Linked DNA regions of Homo sapiens: regions 1, 2, 3 and 5 are each linked to region 4. Evidence: promoter capture Hi-C in 16 types of primary human blood cells and fetal thymus (Javierre and others, 2016). All regions are on one chromosome and are shown on one strand. Each heading gives the region's core, a stretch centred on a gene start or on the middle of the fragment in contact. The rest is flanking DNA. Distances are from core to core; before and after follow the strand shown.

Region 1 (4,929 bases), core at 1,504-4,003, 350 kb after region 4:
CCATCAAACACAGTCCCTGATGCTGAGGACCTGGGTCCAGAGTAGTTGGGAGACAGCATGGAAACAGAACCTTTCAAATCCCTAAAACACCCACCACAGCAAGTCCATGGGCAGGCTCTGTGGTGGACCCTGGGACAAATCGTTAGACCCACCCTGGAGGACAGACTCTGAATGATAACTAAGTCAGAGGCTTTTGTTGGATTTTATTTTTCCTTTTTCATAATCATTTCCAGATTTACTTAGAAGTTGTCTGAAATACACATTTGTCTGGAGAAAGAAAATCTGGCTGAGGTGAGAATCCCTAAGCTGGCTCTAAGCTTCCCTGAAAGGAAAGGCCAATGTATCATCAGCTAACTGTCACACAGGAATCCCTTCTGGGGCATCCCCTGGACCTTTTACCAAAGGTTGGACCCACCACATCCAAGGTCTCTTATTCCCCCATCAGTGCTGTGCTGTTCTAGGTTAACGCTATTTTGGGAATGCAGTTCTTCATTTCAGTGTGAATTTCCTCATATTTCTGCACAAATTGAGTGAAATCCTTGGTGCATTTTTTTTCTTAGATGGATGGAAGCTAAAAGAGAATGGAAGGCCTCCAGCTGTTTGAGGCTCTGTCCTCAACGACAATCAAAATTCTCCATCTTTTCTTGTTCTTGGCACTTTCTGATTGAAATAAGATTCCAGCATTTATCTGCACCTGCAATTTTGACAAGAAAGGAAAATTTAAAAGACAAGTGAAAGAATTCTCTGAGGGAAGTCAGTGAGTCGACAGTAGTCAGACGCCTCCAAATCTCTTTTTGCATTCCTCCGTCAATTAAGCTACAGTCACATATTGGAGAGCAGAACTTAAGTCTGTGAGTAGAAATGCAAAAATGTGTGTCGATCAGTAGCTGGAACCTTCCTCTGGAGCGAGTATTACTTGGAGAGCAGCTGATGATCCATTTGGCATTGAAATGGAGAGGATTTTGAGTCAAAGAGGCCACTTTAAATTATAGATTTGAGTTTAGTTGAAGGTCACACTTAACTTGCATGAATAAAATCTTCAGAGATTTTGGAATATACTCAGAAAATGCAGGCAATCCTGAGCACATAAGCATTTCCTTCAGGGGGTAAAAGCAGTTTAATATTATTGCCCTCTGCATAATTATTGATCATATTAGCATAGGAGATACTGAAAGGGAAGGCAGAGTAACCGTCTGATGGACACCTTGATTCTCAGCAGCTACGACCATGAACTTGGACAGGAAGTTGCCTGGAGACCTGGGAAGATTGTAAAGGGAATTTGATAGTGACCATTTCATTTTGGCTCAACAGATGACAAAAGTGACCCACTGAGAGGGGAAGGTTTATTTAGCTAATCTATATGACATAAATAAATTCCCACACCTAGGAATTTGGGAATCACCTGCCAAATGTTGATTTGATTATCTTGATGTGTGTTTAACCTGATTCAAAGCTTCCTGGTAGCCAAGATGAAGAGGGAAATGTGAATTATAAACTCATCATTTGAGAGGAGAAATGTACTCAACTTTCGAAGGAAACTAGGACATTCATAAAGAAAATTGCAAACATTAAAAACATTTGATTTGGCGGGGCACGGTGGCTCACGCCTGTAATCCCAACACTTCGGGAGGCTGAGGCAAGTGGATCACCTGAGGTCAGGAGTTTGAGACCAGCCTGGCCAACGAGATGAAACTCCGTCTCCACTAAAATTACAAAAAAATTAGCCGGGCATGGTGGCGGGAGCCTGTAATCCCAGCTACTCGGCAGGCTGAGGCAGGAGAATCGCTTGAATCTGTTAGGCGGAGATTGCAGTGAGCCGAGATGGAGCCACCGCACTCCAGCCTGGGCAACAAGAGTGAAACTGTCTCAAACAAAACAAAACAAGAAACATATGATTCATAGTTGTAATATTCTTTCCAAAGGCTATCAGTTCACAATGCAGATTAATGATTAGGATTTAGGAAATTATAAATGTACTTCAGAGGTTTTTGAACCTGTTAATATGAATTAACTTGCAGAATGTCCTGATTCCTCCCCCCAACACTAATCTAAAGCCTATGTTTTTCCCCTGTCGCTTGCTGTGTTAATTGGATCACAGAGATAATTCCCCTCCCATAAAATGTAATCTCTGCAGGTTTTGGAATCTACATTCTGCCGCATTTTATAGGATTATCTCTCAAAGGTAACAGATTAGAAGCCCTGGATGGTGAAAATAAACTGAAATTTGGGCTGTAATCCCTTTCAGTGAGGATGGGGATGGGGGAGGCTTCCAGGTTCTAATGAATGAGAGAATGCTAGATTGGCAGTCTGTTTTTGTTTTGTTTTGTTTTGAGACAGAGTCTCACTCTGTGGCCCAGGCTGGAGTGCAGTGGCGTGATCTTGGCTCACGCCAACCTCCACCTCCCAGGTTCAAGCAATCCTTGTGCCTCAGCCTCCTGAGTAGCTGGGATTACAGGCATGCCCCACCACGCCTGGCAAATTTTTATATTTTTAGTAGAGATGGGGTTTTGCCATTTTGGCCAGGCTGGTCTCGAACTCCTGACCTCAGGTAATCTGCCTGCCTTGGCCTCCCAAAGTGCTGAGATTACAGGGGTGAGCCACTATGCTCGGCCTATAGTCTCTTTGTTCCCTCCCTCCCTTCCTTCCCTTATTGCCTTCTTTTTTTTTTTTTTTTTTGATAGGATCTTACTTTGTTACCCAGGCTGGAGTGCAGTGGCTTGATCTGGGCTTACTGCAACCTCTGCCTCCCAGGCTCAAGTAATCCTCTGACGTCAGCCTCCCGAGTAGCTGGGACCACCATGTCCGGCTAGACTGGCAGTCTGAACACCTGACTCCTAGTCTCTGTATAGCCACCAATTAGTAGTATAATTTATGGCGCTATTTCTCTGAGAGTTCTCTGTGACTCAGTTTCCCCTGCAAAATGAGGAGGTAGTACTAGATCAGCATTTCTCAAAATGCAGTCCAAGAAAAGCTAGTCTTTTTTTTTTTTTTTTTTGAGATGGAGTCTCACTCTGTCACCCAGTCTGGAGTGCAATGGCACCATCTCAGCTCCCTGCAACCTCCGCCTCCCGGGTTCAAGCGATTCTCCTGCCTCAGCCTCCCGAATAGCTGGGACTATAGGCACGTGCCATCACACCTGGGTAATTTTTGTATTTTTTGTAGAGACGGGGTTTCACTATGTTGGCCAGGCTGGCCTCGAACTCATGACCTCGTGATCTGCCTGCCTCGGCCTCCCAAAGTGCTGGGATTACAGGCGTGAGCCACTGCACCTGGCTGAAAAACTAGTCTTTAAAATGTTAATAGGTATTCCATGAATGAAGAACTAAAGGTCAGGTACATTTGGGGAAATCTACATGCCATCATCTCGCAGTAGGGCATCACAATGTCCATTAGCACATAATAGGCTCAGAGTCTTGAAGCAAATAAGTGCAGTTGCGTGTGTGTGTATATAGAACACACACACACACACACACATATATATAACATTTTTCTTCTTCTTCATTTTTTTAATGATATGAGGTCTCACTATCTTTTTTCTTTTTTTTTTTTTGAAATGGAGTCTTGTTCTGTTGCCCAGGCTGGAGTGCAGTGGCGTGATCTTGGCTCACTGTAACTTCTGCCTCCCAGATTCAAGCGAATCTCCTGCCTCAGCCTCCCGAGTAGCTGGGATTACAGGTGCCCGCCACCACACCTGGCTAATTTTTTTGCATTTTTAGTAAAGACATGGTTTTGCCACGTTGGCGCTGCTAGTCTCGAACTCCTGGGGGTCTCACTCTCTTGACCAGGTTGGTCTCGAACTCTTGGCTTCAAGTGATCCTCTCGTCTTGGCCTCCCAAAGTTCTGGGATTACAGGTGTGAGCCACCCTGCCTGGCCTATATATAACATTTTTTTAAACAAAGGAATTTTCAAACTTATTTTGGCTTTAGAATCCTTTTTTGGAAAGAAAACATTAACTTCCAGAATACTCTTGGTAAATGTTGAACTAGATCAGGAGTTCTCAAACTTTTTGTTCTCAGGACTCTTAAAGATTATTGAAGACTCAAAGAAGCTTTAATCTATGTGAATTATTCCATTGTTATTTATCATATTAGACACAATAAAGGATACATAAAAATGTTAATTAATTTTTAAAAAAACACGATGTGGCCGGGCATGGTGGCTCATGCCTGTAATCCCAGCATTTTGGGAGGCCAAGATGGGCGGATCACGAGGTCAGGAGATAGAGACCATCCTGGCTAACGCGGTGAAACCCCGTCTCTACCAAAAATACAAAAAATTAGCCGGGCCTGGTGGCAGGCACCTGTAGTCCCAGCTACTCAGGAGGCTGAGGCAGGAAAATGGCATGAACCTAGGAGGCGGAACTTGCAGTGAGCCAAGATCGAGCCACTGCACTCCATCCTGGGTGACAAAGCGAGACTCCATCTCAAACAAACAAACGAAAAAACCCCACAATACATGTTAATATAAATAACTTTTTTCAAAAAGTAACTATTTTCAAAAATAAAATTGAGAAGAATGGTATTGTTTTATATGTTTGCAAATATCTTTAATGTCTCATTTTGTAAAAGGCATCCAGATTCTCGTATCTGTTTCTGCTTTTAATCTCTTGTGAGATGTTTTGCTGAAGTATATGAAGAAAATCCAGCTTTATAGAGCTATAAAATTGGGAAAGGGACTGGGCATGGTGGCTCATGCCTGTAATCCCAGCACTTTGGGAGGCCAAGGTGGGTGGATCACCTGAGGTCAGGAGTTTGAGACCAGCCTAGCCAACATGGCAAAACCCCATCTCTACTAAAAAAAAATTAGCTGGGCGTGGTGGTGGGCACTTGTAATCCTAGCCACTTGGGAAGCTGAGGCAGGAGAATCGCTTGAACCCAGAAGGTGGAAGTTGTGGTGAGTCGAGATTGCATCACTGCACTCCAGCCTGG
Region 2 (4,971 bases), core at 431-2,930, 280 kb after region 4:
CTGAAGTAACTGCCTCTTGCCTCTGCTGCCCTTTGAACCAGTGTACAGTCACCAGATAGGGACCGGTGAACACCTGATTCCAAACATGTAGGATGGGGGTCTTGTCCTCTTTTTATGTGGTTTAATTGCCAAGTGTCTAAAGCTTAATATGCTGTGCTATGTAAATATTTTATGGCTATAACACTGTCATATTTTGATGTCAACAGAGTTTTAGGGATAAAATGGTACCCGGCCAACATCAAGTGACTTTATAGCTGCAAGAAATCTGGTATGTGGAGAAGTTCTGCATGTGAGGAAGGAAAAAAAGACAATAAAAATGTATTTGAAAAATATTTTTAAAAAAATTTAAACACTAAGATTTGATGAATTTCCTTTCTGCTGAACACCTGGAGGTGCTGGGAGGGAGGCACACCCACAGGTCGTGGCAGCACCACACCCCTCCCCCCGTACTTTGCCATATCCATCTCTTCATCTGGATGTTCATCTGTATCTTATGATTTTTTTTTTTTGAGACAGAATCTTGCTCTCTTGCCCAGGCTGGATTGCAGAGGCACGATCATGGCTCACTGCAACCTCTGCCTCCCAAGTAGCTGGGATTACAGGTACGTACCACCACGCCTGGCTAATTTTTGTATTTTTTCTACAGATGGGATTTCACCATGGTGGCTAGGCTGGCCTTGAACTCCTGACCTCATGTAATCCACCCACCTTGGCCTCCCAAAGTGTTGGGATTACAGGCCCAAGCCACTGTGCCTGGCAAAGACCCTGTCTTTTTTTTTTTTTTTTTTTTTTGAGACGGAGTCTCACTCTGTTGCCCTGGCTGGAGTGCAGTGGTGCGATCTCAGCTCACTGCAACCTCTGCCTCATGAGTTCAAGCAATTCTCCTGCCTCAGCCTCGTGAGTAGCTGGGATTACAGGCGCCTGCCACCACGCCCAGCTAATTTTTGTATTTTTAGTAGAGACGGGGTTTCACCATGTTGGCCAGGCTGGTCTCGAACTCCTGACCTCATGATTCGCCTGCCTTGGCCTCCCAAAGTGCTGGGATTATAGGTGTGAGCCACCACGCCTGGCCAAGACCCTGTCTTAAAAAAAAAAAAAGGCAGGGCGTGGTGGCTGACACCTATAATCCCAGCACTTTGGGAGGCCAAGGCGGGCATATCACTTGAGCCCGGAAGTTTGAGACCAGCTTGGCCAACATGGTGAAACCCATCTCTACTAAAAATACAAAAATTATCTGGGCATCGTGGCGCGCACCTGTAATCTCAGCTACTCAGGAGGCAGAGGCAGGAGAATCGCTTGAACCCAGGAGGTGGAGGTTGCATCACGCCATTGCACCCCAGACTGGGCGACAGGGCAGGACTCTGTCTCAAAAAAAAAAAAAAAAAAAACACACAAAACGCCTGTAATCCCAGCACTTTGGAAGCCTTGAACCTGGAAGGCAGAGGTTGCGGTGAGCCAAGATTGCACCATTGCACTCCAGCCTGGGCAACAAGAGCGAAACTGTCTCAAAAAAAAGATAGAGTCTTGATCTGTTGCCTAGGCTGGAGTGCAGTGGCATGATCTTGGCTCACTGCAACCCCCACATCCCAGGTTCAAGTGATTCTCCCACCTCAGCCTTCCAAGTAGCTGGGATTACAGGTGTGAGCCACCATGCCCGTCTCATGGCGGACGTACAAAAAATTTTTGTATTTTTAGTAGAGAAGGGATTTCACCACGTTGGCCAGACTGGTCTCCAACTCCTGGCCTCAGTAATCCACCTGTCTTGGCCTCCCAAACTGCTAGGATTAGGCAGGATAATAGGACCTGGAGGCAGGGAACCTAAGGACTTCCGAGAACTAAATCAAATGGAAACATCTCATCTATGACAGGAAATATCCTTCTCATTTACATAGGCTGTACAGTGAGTAAATGATTTTGTAACTTTACTTCATCCTCTTCATTTACATAGGGTGTACGTCAAGTAACCAATGGAAACCTCTAGAAGGTATTTAAACCCCAGAAAATTCTGTAACGAGGCTCTTGACCCCCTATGCTCAGGCCTGCTTTCACCCTCTGGAGTATACTTTCATTTTCGAGAAATCTCTGCTTTTGTTGCTTCATTCTTTACTTGCTTTGTTTGTGCATTTTGTCCAATTCTTTGTTCAAGACGCCAAGAACCTGGACACCCTCAACCGGTAACAGGACTACAGGCATGAGCCGCCACGCCCGGCCTATGATATCTTTTATAATAAACTGGCAATGTGTTTCCCTGAATTCTGTGAACTGTCTTAGCAAATTAGTCAAACCCAAGGAGGAGGTCGCAGGAACCCTGGTTTCTAGCCAGTCAGAAGTACCAGTGGCCTAAGGATAGCGTCAGAATTTTCATTCACTCATTCATTCATTTACTTATCGTTCTTGTGGGTACATAGTAGGTGTATGTATTTCTGGAGTACATGAGATATTTTGGTACAGGCATGCAATGTATGGCTCAGAATTGAACTGAATTACGGGACACCCTGATGGAGAATCCACTGAAGGATTGCTTAGTGGGATAAAATCCCCACACATTTTGGTGGCCAAGGGTCTCAGAAGTCTTCTCTGTTGATTGTGAGATTAAAGGCCAAAAAATAACGGTTTTTATTTTTTGTAGAAATGGGGTCTCCACCTGTCACCCAGGCTGGTCTTGAATTCCTGGCCTCAAGCAATCCTCCCACCTCACATCATTGTACTGGGCTTGGTTTTTCTTTTGACGCATGACAACTAAGTGCAATATGGGATGCTGGATTGAATTCTGGACCAAGGTTTTAAAAAACTTTTTTTATTTTGCTACAGGGGACATTAGTGAGATAACTAATGAAATTTAGATAAAGTACACAGATTATAGTACTGTGTCAGTGTTAATTTCATGATTTTCATAACTGTATTGTGATTATGTAAGGGAATATCATTGTTTTTACAAAGTTATTTAGAGGTAAAGTGGCATCATGTCGGCAATTTACTCAAATGTATAAACAGAGGGGCCAGGTGGGGTGGCACACGCCTGTAATCCCAGCACGTTGGGAGGCCAAGGCAGCTGGATACTTGAGGTCAGAAGTACAAGACTAGCCTGACCAACATGGTGAAACCTCATCTGTACTAAAAATACAAAAATTAGTTGGGTGCGGTGGTGCACTTCTGTAATCCCAGCTACTTGGGAGGTTGAAGCACAAGAATCATTTGAACCCGAAAGGCCAAGCTTGCAGTGAGCTGAGATCCCAGCTGAGGTGCGCAGACTGCTTGAACCCAGGAGGTCAAAGTTGCAGTAAGCTATGATCATGCCACTGTACTCCAGCCTGGGTGACAGAGTGAGACCCCATCTGTAAAAAAAAATAAATAAATAAATTGGTATGATCACTTTGGAAAGCTGTTAGTATACTCAATTGAACACACACGTACCCTAAGACACAGCAATTTTACTACTAAATATATGTCCTGCAGAAATATGCACACAGATGCACCAAAAGACATATACAGGAATATAATTCACATCAGCCCCAAACTGGATACAACCCAAAAATAGAATGGATAAGTAAAATGTGGCATATTTATAGAACTGAACACTACTGGCAATAAAAATGAATGAACTGCAACTATATACAACCACGTGGATGAATTTCTCAAACATAATGTTGAGCAAGACACAAAAGAACACACGAATATGAGTCCGTTTACATATACTTCAAAAGCAGGCAAAACTAATTCTTAAAAAATTTTTACTTTTTAATTGAATTATAACCAGAGAAAATGTACAAATCTTAAATGTATGGCATTTTAACATATGGAAAACATTCATAATGAATGTTAAATACCTAGATCCAGATATGGAATATTTCATTCCCCAGTAGCTGTGTCCCCCTCCCAGATGATAATTCCAAACCTCAACTACTATTCTGATCTATTTGTACCTTGAATTAGTTTTTTCATAGACTACTATTGCTTTTTTTCCTTCTATTTTTTAAAGACAGTCTTACTCGGTCACACATTAAATAATAATTACCATTGCCCCTTCCCGCTAACCCCTAGCAGTCAGTTTCACTTTTTGTCTTTATGATTTTTTATTATTTATTTAGAAACAAGATCTCACTCTGTTGCCCAGGCTGGAGTGCAATGACATGAACACAGCTTACTGCAGCCTCTAGTTCCTCGGTTCAAGTGAGCCTCCTGCCATAGCCTCCCAAGTAGCTGAGACTACAGACACATGCCACCATGACCAGCTAATTGTTTTAAATTTATTTTTTATGGAGATGGGGTCTCACTCTGTTGCCCTGGGTGGTCTCAAACTCCTGAGCTCAAGCAATCCTCCCACCTCAGCCTGCCTGTGTTGAGATTACAGGCATAAACCACCATGCCTGATTTTTTTAAAAATAATTTTTTGTAGATATGGGGTCTCCCTGTGTTGCCCAGGCTGGTCTTGAAATCCTGGGCTCAAGTAATCATCCTGCTTTGGCCTGATTACTATTTCTACTATTTCTTGACCTGACTGTTGTTTCCATAGATGTAGACACCTTTTTATTATTTATTGATCTCTATATTTAGGATTTGTATACTTTTCTGTATATATATTACACTCCAATAAAAGTTTTCTCAAAAAATCCAAAGATTTTATTAGCTATTGCTCCTCAACTCAGCACAGTGACTGTAGAATTTTATCCAGGTATGTTCTAAGCATTAGCTTCTTTCATTTCTGCTACTACAGGCATATTTCATGATTTTATTACTATTATCATTTTATGAGTCTGCCTATTTTTTTTATTTTTTATTTTTTGAGAGGAGTCTGGCTGTGTCGCCCAGGCTGGAGTGCAGTGGCACAATCTCGGCTCACTGCAAGCTCCACCTCCCAGGTTCATGCCATTCTCCTGCCTCAGCCTCCCGAGTAGCTGGGACTACAGGTGCCCGCCACCATGCCTAGCTAATTTTTTGTATTTTTAGTAGAGCCAGGGTTTCACCATGTTA
Region 3 (4,729 bases), core at 2,170-4,669, 300 kb after region 4:
GAGAGACCGAGGCAAATTTTAGAGCAGGAGTGAAAGTTTATTAAAAAGCTTTAGAGCAGGAATGAAGGAAAGGAAAGTACACTGGGAAGCAGGCGACTTCAAAGGCAAGTGTGTGGTTTGACCTTTTGACTTGGGGTTTTATATGCTGGCATATTTCTGGGGGCTTGCATCCCTTCTCCCCTGATTCTTCCCTTGGGGTGGGCTGTGCTTATGTGCGGTAAGCCTGCTAGCACTTGGGAGGTGAGCACGCATGGTGTGTTTACTGGAGTTGTGCGCATGCTCACTTGAGGTGTTCTTCCCTTACCAGTCGAATGTCCCTAGAAGGTGGCCATGTATGTTAAACTCCGTCATTTTGACTCTTAATGCTCGTGCTTGAGCCTACTTGCCCAACTCCTAAGATCTTATCGGGAAGCTGCTGATCGCCAGTTTCAGGTGTTTTTATCTATTGGAAGACTGCCTTTCCCTGGTATTGGCTGTGAACAATTTTAGAGAAACTGTTTAACAACCACCTGACCATCACCTGATGGTTGCCTGACATTCCTGGTGTATGTGAGTGTGTTTGTGTGGGGGGCTCTCTTACCCTACTCATGTCTGACTCGCTGTCTACTCTAACAAAAGTACCTATGAAAACCCCTAAAATCCACTCCCAGGCCCCTGTCCACTTAGCCTTGAGGTTCCATGTATGAAACCTTGAAATAAGTGACTTATCATACAGTGATGGAAAATGCTAAAGTCTTTTCTTTATTCCTTTACGTCTGAGAGGATTGCTCTCTCTCAGCTATTAAACCATTACTCTCTGACTGAAGTGGTGGAGAATTCCATAATGAAGATGATTAGCAAGATATCATATGTCACAAACTCAAATGCCTTGGGGGCCAGCAGGTGATGGAAATCAGAGCAAATAAAACATGGATGGATGCAGTTGCAGGCCAGTGGGTGATCTCCGGCTCACTTTCTTTCTGATACCCCTTGATATGGTTTGGCTGTGTCCCCACCCAAATCTCATTTTGAACTGTAGTTCCCATAATCTCCATGAGTCATGGGAGGGACCCATTGGGAGGTAATTGAATCATGGGGGTGGTTTCTCCCATCCTGTTCTTGCCATAGTGAGTTAGATCTCACGAGATCTGGTGTTTTTATAAGGGGCTTCCCCCTTTGCTGGGCATTTGTTTTCTCTCCTGCCGCCATGTGAAGAAAGACATATTTGCTTCCCCTTCCACCATGACTGTAAATTTCCTGAGGCCTTGCCAGTCATGCTGAACTGTGAGTCGATTATTATTATTATTATTATTATTATTATTATTATTTCTTTTTGAAACAGAGTCTTGCTCTGTCGCCCAGGCTGGAGCGCAATGGCGCCATCTTGGCTCACTGCAACTCCGCCTCCCGGGTTCAGGCGATTCTCCTGCCTCAGCCTCCCGAGTAGCTGGGATTACAGGCAAGCGCCACCACACCTGGCTAATTTTTGTATTTTTTTTTTTTTTTTTAGTAGAGACGTGGTTTCACCATGTTAGCCAGGCTGGTCTCAAACTCCTGACCTTGTGATCCACCCACCTCGGCCTCCCAAAGTGCTGGGATTACAGGTGTGAGCCACCATGCCCGGCCTATTATTATTATTTTGAGATGGAGTCTCGCTCTGTCACCCAGGCTGGAGTGCAGTGGTGTGATATCTGCAACCTCCGCCTCCTGGGTTCAAGCAATTTTCCTGTCTCAGCCTCCTGAGTAGCCAGGACTACAGGTGCCCGCCACCACGCCTGGCTAATTTTTGTATTTTTAGTAGAGACAGGGTTTCACCATATTATTCTGGCTGGTCTTGAACTCCTGACCTCAGGTGATCCACCTGCCTGGGCCTCCAAAAGTGTTGGGATTACAGGCATGAGCCTCCGCGCCGCCTGAACTGTTAGTCAATTAAGCCTCTTTCCTTTATACATTACCCAGTCTCACATATGTCTTTATTAGCAGCATGAGAACAGACTAATATACCCCCTTTCATCAGTCTTTAATAGTGAGGAGAAACTACCCTGTTGGCAAATTGTTTCCGGTTTCTGGGTGGGATTGGTAGAAAGCCTTCTCTTCCATGCCCTGCTGAAAGGCTGATCTCCCTAATAACTGCAAGCCATAGGCTAGGGCACTTCTGAAGGCCTACTATGTGCAAACACTGTTCTAAGTGCTTCCACCTTAATTGGCTTCTTTTTTTTTTTTTTTTGAGACAGAGTCTTGCTTTGTCACCCAGGCTGGAGTGCAGTGGTGCGATCTCAGCTCACTACAACCTCTGCCTCCTGGGTGCAAGCGATTCTCCTGCCTCAGCCAACCGAGTAGCTGGGATTACAGGCACCTGCCACAATGCCTGGCAATTTTTTTTTTTTTTTTTAGTAGAGACAGGGTTTTACCATGTTGTTCAAGCTGGTTTCGAACTCCTGACTTCAAGTGATCTGCCCACCTCAGCCTCTCAAAGTGCTGGGATTATAGGCATGAGCCACTGTGCCTGGCCCTCTTAATTAGTTTATTTAATCCTCTCTACATCGCCACAAGATAGGTACTACTATGATCACTATTTTACAGGTGAGCAAATGAAGCACAGAGAGGTTAAGGAGGAACAGGGTTATCTGTTACAACTCTTCAGCAGGGCATTCTGGGCAGTTCTGTCTAACTTGTGAGAGGCAAGGGGACTATCTGTTAATTATTTGTTATCAATATTATTTTTTGAGCAGAGCCTTGCTCTGTCATCCAGGTTGGAGTGCAGTGATACAATCTTGGCTCACTGCAACTTCTGTCTCCTAGGTTCAAGTGATTCTCATGCCTCAACCTCCCAAGTAGCTGGGATTACAGGCATGCACCACCATGCCTGGCTAACTTTTGTATTTTTTAGGAGAGAAAAGGTTTCACCACGTTGGCCAGAATGGGCTTGAACTCCTGATCTGTACTAGTCTGTTTTCACGCTGCTGATAAAGACATACCTGAGACTGGGCAATTTACAAAAGAAAGAGGTTTAATGGACTTATAGTTCCACATGGCTGGGGAGGCCTCACAATCATGGCAGAAGGCAAGGAGGACCAAGTCACATCTTACTTGGATGGCAGCAGGCAAAGAGAGAGAGAGAGCTTGTGCAGGGAAACTCCCATTTTTAAAACCGTCAGATCTCATGAGACTTATTCACTATCATGAGAACAGCGCAAGAAAGACCTGCTCCCATGATTCAGTTATCTCCCACCAGGTCCCTGTCACAACATGTGGGAATTACGGGAGCTATGGGTGTGAGAGAGAGCCAAACCATATCATTCTGCCCCTGGCCTCTCTCAAATCTCTTGCCTTCACATTTCAAAACCAATCATGCCTTCTCAACAGTCCCCTAAAGTCTTTTTTTTTTTTTGAGATGGAGTCTCGCTCTGTCACCCAGGCTGGAGTGCAGTGGCGCAATCTCAGCTCACTGCAAGCTCTGCCTTCCGGGTTCATGCCATTCTCCTGCCTCAGCCTCCTGAGTAGCTGGGACTACAGGCGCCCACCACCACATCTGGCTAAGTTTTTGTATTTTTAGTAGAGACGGGGTTTCACTATGTTAGCTGGGTTGGTCTCGATTTCCTAACCTCGTGATCTGCCCGCCTCAGCCTCCCAAAGTGCTGGGATTACAGGCTTGAGCCACCGCACCCGGCTGTCCCTAAAGTCTTAACTCATTTCAGCATTAACTCAAAAGTCCACAGTCCAAAATCTCATCTGAGACAAGGCAAGTCCCTTCCACATATGAGGCTGTAAAATCAAAAGCAAGTTAGTTACTTCCTAGATACAATGGGGGTACACGAATTGGGTAAATATAGCCATTTTGAATGGAGTAAATTAGTCAAAACAGAGGGACTACAGGCCCCATGCAAGTCTGAAATCCAGCAGGGCAGTCAAATCTTAAAATTCCAAAATGATCTCCTTTGACTCCATGTCTCCTATCCAGGTCATGCTGATGCAAGAGGTGGGCTCCCACGGCCTTGGACAGCTCCACCCCTGTGGCTTTGCAGGTATAGCCCCTCTCCTGGCGGCTTTCACTGGCTGGCATTGAGTGTCTGCGGCTTTTCCAGGTGCACGGTGCAAGCTGTTAGTAGATCTAACATTCTGGGGTCTGAAGGATGGTGGCCTTCTTCTCACAGCTCCACTAGGTGGTGCCCCCAGTAGGGACTCTGTGTGGGGGCTCTGATCCCACATTTCTCTTCTGTGCTACCCTAGCAGAGGTTCTCCATGAGGGCCCTGTCCCTGCAGCAAACTTCTGCCTAAGCGCCCAGGCATTCTCATACATCCTCTGACATCTAGGCAAAGGTTAAAAAAAAAAAAAAAAAAAAAAAAGGCCAGGCGTGGTGGCTCATGCCTGTAATCCCAGCACTTTGGGAGGCCAAGGTGGGTGGATCACCTGAGGTCGGGAGTTCAAGACCAGCCTGACCAACATGGAGAAACCCCATCTCTACTAAAAATACAAAATTAGCTGGGCATGGTGGCTCATGCCTGTAATCCCAGCTACTCGGGAGGCTGAGGCAGGAGAATCACTTGAACCTGGAAGGTGGAGGTTGCGGTGAGCCAAAATCGAGCCACTGCACTCTAGCCTGGGCAACAAGAGCGAAACTGCGTCTCAAAAAAAAAAAAAAAGGTAAAATAATAATAGCAACAAAAACAAATCTTTCACGCCTATAATCCCAGCACTTTGGGAGGCTGAGGTGGGCCAATCACGAGGAGAGGAGATCGAGACCATCCT
Region 4 (5,259 bases), core at 780-3,279:
AAGATAGTGTGGTGCTAGTAGAAAGTCAGAAAATGCCCAAAACAGAACTACATATTTAGGAAACCTTGATATGACATAGATGGCATTAAAAACTAAGAATAGACTACTCAATAAATGGTGCTGCGACAATTAGTTACCTATATGGAAAAAAAAATTAGATTTTTATACAAAGTCAGTTCCATGTGGATTAAATGCAAATGAAAAAACCGGAAGATTTAAAAGAAAACATACAGAAAAACTGTCCTGATCTAGGTAGACAGGATTTCTTAACCAAGACAAAAAGCATAAACAATAAAATATGACAATTTTGGCTGTATTAAAATCAAAAACATCTGTACAAAAAATTGAACATAAATATAAAGAGGAGAAGCCACACAGTGAAAAATATTAGCAAAATGTAGTAACAAAAAAGGATTAGTTTAACAATACTCTTACAAATTGGTAAGCAAAGATAAAGCCAATAGAAAATTGGGCAACAGAAAAAACAAAAACAGATACAAAAAATAATATATAAATAGTAACATGTAATTAGATATAAAATATATATTATTGTTACATTGTTAAGTTTTAGATATAAAATGCATATAAATAGCACAAACCTAAGTACTAAAATATAAAAACATTACTGGGTATGCGAAACACCAAATAAGGACAATAGTCACCACTATAAAGAAGAATGGGAGAGTTTAGCCGTCTTTTATTTTGAAAAATTCGACATAAGTCTGGCAAATGTTAACACTGTTTAAAGTTGAGTAGTGAATATATAGGTATTATCTTACTCTCTACTGGTCTCTGTGTTTAAAATATTTCACGATAAAGTGGGAAAATGGTTAATTTTACATAAAAAGAACTTTAACAGATGCAAAAAATAAAACCTCTCTCATTCGACAAGCAGCCTAAATGGGGAAAAAAGAACCCACTCAAAAAAAAGGTAGCAGATAATGTCACCGTGGCTTACCAGCCTAATCAAACTTATTACTTGTTATGTATATATCCTTATTAAACTAAGTCGTTACTGTGTTAAAGCATTTTAGTGTTTAAATAAAAGATTTCAGAATACAGCAGAAATACATTCCAATATGTTGGGGTTTTTACGCTTAGGAAAACCTACAATAGTAGGTGATTTGACATTTGAATCACACCTATCTGAATTAAGATGTCCAGCACTACCAAACAAAAGCCACACGAGGCCACGAAACACTCCCAACTCTGCATGTTTTAGCCTTTTTAAAGTCCTAGAAACCAACTGATACTGATTAAAAACCAAACAAAAAAAAAATACAGGCCTCAGAAAAATACACTATTTTGCACACAAAGTCCATCCATAGGCCTCAGATCTAGAACTCCTGCTTTAAAGTTGCTTCTCCAATCTCGATCCGAAACACTGGCTGAGTTATGCTGGAAAAGAATGCAAAGTGTACGGGGCTTGAGTTCCTGTTGCGTAAAACCTTTCCGGCTTTCAGCAACTTCTCGAGAGGTTAACACCTTTAAGGAGAGACTTTGCTCCCTGTCGATGCCGTGGCTGGACAAATGCCGCTCTCAACTGCTACAGACCAAAGTCTACGCTTTAAAGATAGAGAAGCCATTCTGTCAAAGTGAAAACAGAAGCGGTAGGTAGGAAGCCGCCCCCCTTTCTTTCAAGCACAGAGACCCAGAGAGACGCCCAGGAGCTCCCGAAAAAAACGTTGCTGATTAGAGCTGCCGGGTCAGAAACAGCTGTGAGACACTAAAGTCCCCACTGGTAAGCGCCCCAGCTCCACCTCGGCCCCTATCCCCAAGGTTGGGTATTGGTTAAAGGGGGGAAGGGAATACCTCCACTAACAACCGCTACAACCGCCTCCTGCCAAGTCCCCGCTCGGGCCCACTAAACTCACAGCCTGAAGAATCCCACACTCACTGGAAAGTGGGGCCCGGTCCTGGTCCCGGTCCGGCTCCCGGAATTCGGCGGGTCTCCCAGGGTTTGGGGGGAGGTGGCGGCTGGGACGCCATCTCCTCCGCCTCCTCTCGGCTCCCGCTCCTACCCCTGACTGTCCAGGCCCGCGTAGACCAGCACCTGGAGCGTAAGACACAACGGGCAGAACACCGAGCCGTCCACCCCGCCCACCCTTGCAGTCAGGACAAGGCTTGAGTTACTTTGCCAGCTGAATCCATACAGCGGGAGGATGCCACTAATTTGTAGGAAGAAACACGCTCTTTGTATTTGCCCCAGAAAGAGCTGCCTTTCTAAACCTCAGGGTAAAGGCTCATCGATATTTCTGGTAGCGGCTACAACTCCCTAGACGTCGGAGTCCCACCGAGGCTTTTCTGGGAGTGGACCAGTCGGGCTGGGAGTAAAGCCGCACGCACTCCTTCGCTCGTGGGGGAGGTAGGGTGAGGTGGCAAACCAGGCAGTTTTTCGGATTTCCTCTACAAACAAGAAGGGAGAAGCTCACTTAGTCCTAGCGAGAGCGGGCTGGTACTTTTGTTCTAAAACGCACGTTTCCTCGGGGAACAGAATTGCTAGACGCAATAGGTGCGTTGTCTTTAGTCTTCCCTCTTCCCTTCGAGGGCCGGAAGGGGTTAAATCTCAGGCTCCGGCGTCTGGGGAGAAGGTGAGGCGGGTAGGTAAGAGGTGAAGGAGTGCAGACTGGGTGCAAAAGAGGTGTGGCGGGAGAGAGTTCGTTTCTCTCCTGCTGGAGCGGCTTTGTTAGCAAAGGAGGGGTGAGTGGGAAGTTTGTTGCACCTGACCGAAGGGGGAAGGGCTTGCTTGGCGAAAACTGAGGCTTGAGGTTAGATCTCGGGATGAACTTTTCAAGAGTCCACAGTAGATTCCAGAGCTGAATGTTTCAGAAGCCCAGTGAAGTGTGATCACCTCTTTCTCCGTAAATCCACACCCCCAGCCCCACGCCGCGTTACGAATGACACCCTTCGGTAGGGAAATGAGTTTTAAAAGATCTTAGGATATGAGACTCAGTCTGGTCATTTCGCTAGTTTTTCTTATACCCTGCCCCTTTTCTCGTTTTCGATGACTGGTTTTTGTAATCGTCCAAGAGGTGAAAATAAAGTCCTTCCTCTCCTCCAGTAAGCCAGAGACTGGGCTAGTTATCCTTGATTTGGGGAGGAGGGATTCAGTCCTCCTAGGGAGCCTGACACATGAAAGGCGGCTTTGTAGCAACTTGTTACAGAGTTATTTCTATAAAACAAACACATAAACGAAAAGCAAACATCTTGAGGGTAACCAACACTGGAAAACTTACATTGTGGAATGCCTTTCTCAGGGCTTGCTTTCAAACATAATAAATCTAATATGGACAACCGATTTCTAATATCTTATGAAATCCTGGCATTTAATTATCTCACGATGAAAAAACCAAATTTAAGACGTAACGTATTTTCTCCTTTTAATGTTAACATTCTTGAGAAGTTGATAAATTGTTGGTAGGTGAAAATGATGTTGAGAGGTTTGTAAATTCATAGCTCGTTTATTAACACACATTCAAAAGAGGTCTTTTTTGGGGTCTATTTTTAGACCTCTTCAAATTACTCAGGACTGGAAGTTTTGTAATTCTCATCAATCAGGTTTGGGAACTTCTCAGAGCCAGGAGATTGTAATGTGTCATTTATTTACTTTGCATGATACCTTTGTTCTTGTGAACTTACTGGAAAAATAAACATTGTCTTCTAGCCATGGAAAATAAAATAAATTTTAATATAGCTATTTAAGTATCGAGGGAAATCTTCATTAAGTGTCCTTTTAAAGTGCTTATTGATTTATTGGAAGAGGGTGTATTTCTTCTGTCTCTTTTTGAGTTAAATGTTACTTCTGAATTAAGTAAAATTCTTGACCTTAACTAATGGAGAAAAAATAACTTAGAGTAACAGGTGAAACAGAAACAGTTTCTCTGTGTATGTAGTCAGAGATGCACTGTAAATGCTTATATTCGCCCCTCACAGCATCCGATCTCTTCTCTGCATCAAAGTAGATTAAATGGGCTGGGAAAAGGGATCCAGATCACTAGTAAATAGTAATGACTTGACCTTGACCACACAGATCTTATTTATTTATTTATTGAGATGGAGTCTCGCTCTGTTGCCCAGACTGGAGTACAGTGGCACGATTTTGGCTCTCTGCAACCTCTGCCTCCTGGGTTCGGGCGATTCTCCTGCCTCAGCCTCCTGAGTAGCTGGGACTACAGGTGCGTGCCACCACGCATGGCTAATTTTTTGTATTTTTAGTAGAGATGGGATTTCATCGTGTTAGCCAGGATGGTCTCGATCTCCTGACCTCATGATCCTCCTGCCTCAGCCTCCCAAAGTCCTGGGCTTACTGCAACCTCCACCTACTGGGTTCAAGTGATTCTCCTGCCTCAACCTCCCGAGTAGCAGGGATTACAGGTGCACACCTCCACACGTGGCTAATTTTTGTATTTTAGTAGAGATGGAGTTTTACCATGTTGGCCAGGCTGGTCTTGAACTCCAGACCTCAAGTGATAATGCCTGCCTCGGCCTCCCAAAGTGCTGGGATTACAGGCGTGAGCCACTGGGCCTGGCCAGATCTTCATTATTTAGAGGCTGTTTTCCACATATTCTGTTTTCTTTCTTGAAAATACCCTGGAGCCCAAATTTACTTAGGCAACCCTAACTATGCGTTTCTCAATTCTGGTGTTTCAAAGTTGTCACCTTGTCAGCTTGTATGGTGTGTCCATACAAGCCTGATTTTCTTCCCTCTGCTGACTCACATATTCCCCTGAATTAGAATTCAGCCAGAGGCAATCTGTTTTTAGTAGTCCTGGCTGCTGAACTGATTTTTATGGTGAAGAGTTCTATGTAACTATATGCCTGTCTTCCTCATTATTTTGTGCAAGAATCTTGGTAAGTGGCCCCAAACATTTAGCAACTTGCAAGTAAGTAGGAAGTTTTAGAGGTTTGGAAAACGCAGACTAGAAGAATCACGTCTTTATACTAAGCTGTTGGGAGGAGCTTCACCCTTCCACAAATTTTAAGCAAGTTCATTTGAATTATGAAACTGCACAAATTAAAAGATGCCACTGTCGTTCATCTTTATGACCACAGTTACAGCATGCCATAAGATTGCCATGCAATGATTATTTTCTAAAATATGGGCAGTTGATCATTTTAAGGTAATATGAACTGTTTCACTAATTAGAAGATCTTGTTTTGCTGAACAAATTAGGTTGTTTGAATTTTTAGTACCCCCTCCTTCCCGGTAACAGGAGACAGATTTGCCTTCATTCTCTATATAGTATTTTTTTGTGAGTT
Region 5 (4,592 bases), core at 425-2,924, 330 kb after region 4:
GTTCTGTTTAAAGACTGCTATTCAAAAATTATTGTTCAATTACTCCAGTATTTGCTATCTAACTTACCCAAAGACATTCATTTATCACCATAAGCTTGGGAATAGGATCTAGCCATTGCAACTATAGACTCCAGAAATTCAGAAAGAAGATTCAGACTTACCTTTGTTATAATGTTTTTTTTTTTTTTTAAGAGACAGAGTCTTGTTCTGTCGCCCAGGCTGGAGTGCAATGGTGAGATCTTGGCTTACTGCACCTCCACCTCCCAGTTTCAAGTGAGTCTCCTGCCTCAACCTCCCGAGTAGCTGGGATTACAGGCGCCCGCCATTATGCCCGGCTAATTTTTGTATTTTTAGTACAGACGGGGTTTCACCACGTTGCCCAGGCTGGTCTCAAACTCCTGACCTCAGGTGATCTGCCTGCCTTGGCCACCCAAAGTGTTGGGATTACAGGTGTGAGCCACCGTGCTCAGCCTGATATAAATTTTAAATGCTCTATTATTAAGAAGAAAATCACCAAAGTAACAATCTTATCAATGATGGATTCAAGAATGGAATGAAGGATGGAAAGAGCAAAGCATGCATTAGGCATTTTGTACGTCTGTCACCTACATAGCTAAAGAAAGAGAGGGATGAAGGTATTAGTTAGGATACAATCTCAGGTGAAGGTAACAGAGCCCCAAAGTAACAGTGTGCTGAACCAGATGGAAGCTTATTTCTGTCTTGTGAAGATGGCCCAGGGCAGGTATAGTGGCTCTGATCCACAAGATCATGCAGAGACCTTGGCTCCTTCTGCCCTGTTTCTTTGCCATTCCAAGCAGAGGGGTAGAGGCAAGAAAAAGGGTGAAGGGATGACTTTTAAGGTATGACCAGATACTTTTAAGGGTATGACCAGAAATCACAACCCATTGTGCTCAGGATTTAGATTTATGGCCACACCTAGCTACAAATGAGTCTGGTTTTTATTTTGGATACCCATGTGTCGAGTTAAAAATTAGGGGTGCTATTATTTAAAAAGAAGAGAATAAATTTTGAGATGTTGTCTTAGCTGTTTGTGTTGCTATAACACAATACCTGAGACTGGGTAATTTATAAAGAACACAAACTTATTTCTCACAGTTTTCACAGCTGGGAAGTCGAAGATCAAGGTACCAGCAGGTTTGGTTGGTGAAGGCTGCTTTTTGATTCCAAGATGGCACCTTGTTGCTGTATGCTATGGAGGGGAGGAATGCTGTGTGAGGCTTCCTTTACAAAGGCCTTAATCCTATTCATGAGGAAGAAGCCCCCATGGCCTACTCACCTCTTAAAGGCCCCACCTCTTAATACTATCAATTGGCCATTGTATTAGTCCATTCTCACACTGCCATAAAGAACTACCTGAGCCTGGGTAATTTATAAAGAAAAGAGGTTTAATTGGCTCACAGTTTCACAGGCTGTATAGGCAGCATGGCTGGGGAGGCTTCAGGGAACTTACAATCATGGTGGAAGGGAAAAGGGGAAGCAAGCATGTCTTTAGATGGCAACAGGAGAGAGAGAGTAAGGGGGGGATGTGCAACACACTTTTAAACAACCAGAGCTCATGAGAACTCACTTACTATCATAAGAAAAGCAAGGGGAAAATCCTCCCCCATGATTCAATCACCTTCCACCAGGTCCCTCCCCAACATGGGGAATTACAATTTGACATGAGATTTGGATGGGGACACAGAGCCAAACCATATCCACCATTAAGTTTCAACAGCTGCATTTTGGAGGGGACACAGTCTAACCATAGCAGATCCAGTGAACCATCTTTGCTACCATAAAACTGTTGCTACTATAGGAAACAGAACAATTATTTTAAAGCAAATTTGGAAAACTTGAAGCCAGGGGGCTCTCAGGTGTGTGCAGAAACAAATCTCTCTCGTCCTCTTGCCATATTAATAACCCATGATTCCTTATGAGTTTTGGGGCTTTTAAGTGGACACCCAGAGCCAGCTATTGTCGGCTACTGCCCTGCATTAGCCCCTTGCCAAGCAAGCCAGGCCCTGGGGAATTCTACTACCATGGGAGATACACGCAGACAATGCTCTCTCTCTCCGACTACATGAGGTATTGCAGAGTGTATTAATTCTCTCTCTCTCTTTTTTTTTTTTTTTTTTTGAGATGGAGTCTGGCTCTGTCGCCCAGGCTGGAGTGCAATGGCATGATCTCAGCTCACTGCAAGCTCTGCCTCCTAGGTTCACGCCATTCTCCTGCCTCAGCCTCCCGAGTAGCTGGGACTACAGGCGCTCACCACCACACCCAGGTAATATTTGTATTTTTTTAGTAGAGACAGGGTTTCACCATGTTAGCCAGGATGGTTTTGATCTCCTGACCTCGTGATCTGCCCGCCTTGGCCTCCCAAAGTGCTGGGATTACAGGCATGAGCCACCGCGCCCAGCTGCAGACTGGATTAATTCTCTACGACTGCCAGTTATTTCCTGTAAAGAGGATGGTGGTCACACCCTTCTCCTGTAAACTTTATCTGCAACCACTTCTCGTTCTGATCTGATGAACAAAAATTTGAAAAGAAGTCAATAGAAAAACTAGGACACAACCATGGTGGTGTGGGAGGCACCACAGGAAGAGGAGTCAATGGGTTGGTTGGAGAAAGAAAGCTTCTATGAGGCCTCTGGGTGGCCCACGGAGAGAGAGGTGGATGTTAGGGAGAAAGAGAACCAAGAGAGGGGAAGAAAATGGATAATGAGGCCAGGTGTGGTGGCTGATGCCTGTAATCCCAGCACTTTGGGAGGCTGAGGCGGGTGGATCACCTGAGGTCAGGAGTTCAAACCAGCCTGGCCAACATGGTGAAACCCCGTTTCTACTAAAAATACAAAAATTAGCCAGGCGCGATGGTGCACGCCTGTAGTCCCAGCTACTTGGGAGGCCAAAACAGGAGAATGGCTTGAACCCGGGAGGCGGAGTTTGCAGTGAGCCGAGATTGCCCCACTGCACTCCAGCCTGGGAGACAGAGCAAGACTCCATCTTAAAGAAAAATAAAAATAAAATGGATAATGAGGAAAGAAAATAGGTTTCCTCCCTAATGAAAGTGAGGTAGGTCTGGGGAAGCTGTGAATCTCATGTATCAGAGAGGTTGAGGCAGGCATACATCTGAGGTGGCAGAGGCTACTAACCTAACATAAAGAGGACCCACAGAAAGATGGTAAGTGAGGCAATGCTAGGGAATTACAGCAAGAACAGTGGGAACAAGTGTTTCATGATATGGAGGAAATCCCAGGAAAACTCCCAAATGTTCAGTCTCTTGACATGCTCCAGCATTCTTCCCACTGGGACCCCAGTCCACCGACCTCCCCTCAATTACTCGCTTTTCTATGACCTCCTTGTCTCCCTTCTTCCCACCTTGATCAGTTTGGATTCCGTGGTTCATCCCTGACATCACACCTTGATATGACATTCAATTCACCTGCCTCTCTTTCCATCCACACTTCCCTGGCAAAACCCCAACTCTGATGAACTTAGCACCCCTCACCCTCCATTCCCTGCCTGCACCTGAGCAGCTAGCTGTGGCGGAAAAAAGCCCACATAGGATGGTGAATGTCAGGAGCCCACAGCCTCGTCCAGTTGTCCAGCTTATTGCCATGGTCAAGTTGCTCTCCCCCTTTGAAATGACTACCTTATAGCTTTTTCCTCTGTCATCAACCTTTCAATATCACCTCTCTCCTTCTCACTCTTAGCTGTTGGCCTGGCTCCTGTTGTCTCTTTTTATTTTTATTTTATTTTATTTTTAAAGTTTTTTTAAAAATTTTTGTCTTTTATGATTTTATTTTTTTGAGACAGAGTCTCGGCAGGGTGTGTTGTCTCACACCTGTAATCCCAGCACTTTGGGAAGCCGAGGTGAGGAGTTCAAAATGGAGTCTTGCTGTGTTGCCCAGGCTGGAGTGCAATGGCACCATCTCAGCTCACTGCAAACTCTGCCTTCCCAAGTCAAGCAATTCTCTGCTTCAGCCTCCTGAGTAGCTGGGGTTATAGACGTGTGCCACCACACCCAGTTGATTTTTGTATTTTTAGTAGAGATGTGGTTTTGCCATGTTGGCCAGGCTGGTCTTGAACTCCTGACCTCAAGTGATCCACCCGCCTCTGCCTCCCAAACTGCTGGGATTACGGGCATGATTTTTTATTTTTATTTTTTGAGATGGAGTCTCACTCTGTTGCCCAGGCTGGAGTGCGGTGGTGCAATCATAGCTCACTGTAACCTGGAACTCCTGGGTTCGAGACACCCTCCTGCCTCAGCTTCCCAAATAGCTGGGACTACAGGTGTGTGCCACTACACTTGGCTTGTGGCTCCTTTTTTCACGGAAGAAATAAAAACAATCAGCAGAGAATGATTCAGAATCTTCAAATGTACCTTCATTTGTAGCCGCCTATGCTCTGCCTCCTGGAGAGTTGCGATGAATGTCCCATCCTTGCTCCTATCACTGGCACTGTGTATTCCCTGGTCCACCCCTTCTTGCCTGCTTAAGGACTTGCTCCTGCAATCATCCCCTTGCTCTGTGTCATTGTCTGCCCCCCGCTACTGGGTTATTCCCATCAGTGTACAAATATGTGGCAATACT

What was found. The method cuts DNA at HindIII sites, captures the fragments that hold promoters and counts their contacts. A CHiCAGO score of 5 or more calls a contact.
Region 1: a fragment that was not itself captured here is called in contact with the fragment with the promoter of PEX13 in region 4 in 1 of 17 cell types (megakaryocytes); the score reaches 5.4 in megakaryocytes.
Region 2: a fragment that was not itself captured here is called in contact with the fragment with the promoter of PEX13 in region 4 in 2 of 17 cell types (activated CD4 T cells and total CD4 T cells); the score reaches 6.6 in activated CD4 T cells.
Region 3: a fragment that was not itself captured here is called in contact with the fragment with the promoter of PEX13 in region 4 in 13 of 17 cell types (total CD4 T cells, activated CD4 T cells, neutrophils and 10 more); the score reaches 12.6 in total CD4 T cells.
Region 5: a contact is called between a fragment that was not itself captured here and the fragment with the promoter of PEX13 in region 4, in 1 of 17 cell types (total CD4 T cells). The highest score is 5.2, in total CD4 T cells.

The regions. Positions count from the first base shown.
Region 1 is chr2:60,668,027-60,672,955 of GRCh38, reverse strand. No RefSeq gene overlaps it. Among named protein-coding and RNA genes, the nearest start is that of PAPOLG, 86 kb to the left of the region's middle. The HindIII fragment of the contact is 2,596 bases long and covers 1,456-4,051 here.
Region 2 is chr2:60,729,753-60,734,723 of GRCh38, reverse strand. It overlaps the pseudogene ATP1B3P1. Among named protein-coding and RNA genes, the nearest start is that of PAPOLG, 24 kb to the left of the region's middle. The HindIII fragment of the contact is 3,072 bases long and covers 145-3,216 here.
Region 3 is chr2:60,712,134-60,716,862 of GRCh38, reverse strand. No RefSeq gene overlaps it. Among named protein-coding and RNA genes, the nearest start is that of PAPOLG, 42 kb to the left of the region's middle. The HindIII fragment of the contact is 6,738 bases long and covers 51-4,729 here.
Region 4 is chr2:61,014,490-61,019,748 of GRCh38, reverse strand. PEX13 (peroxisomal biogenesis factor 13) reads right to left here and starts at 2,029. Exons shown (of 4, transcript NM_002618.4): 1 at 1,898-2,029. The coding sequence starts at 1,989. It overlaps PUS10 (pseudouridine synthase 10), which reads left to right and starts at 1,494. Exons shown (of 18, transcript NM_144709.4): 1 at 1,494-1,741. RefSeq lists an enhancer at 1,573-1,622. The HindIII fragment of the contact is 15,520 bases long and covers 1-5,259 here.
Region 5 is chr2:60,686,581-60,691,172 of GRCh38, reverse strand. No RefSeq gene overlaps it. Among named protein-coding and RNA genes, the nearest start is that of PAPOLG, 67 kb to the left of the region's middle. The HindIII fragment of the contact is 1,928 bases long and covers 711-2,638 here.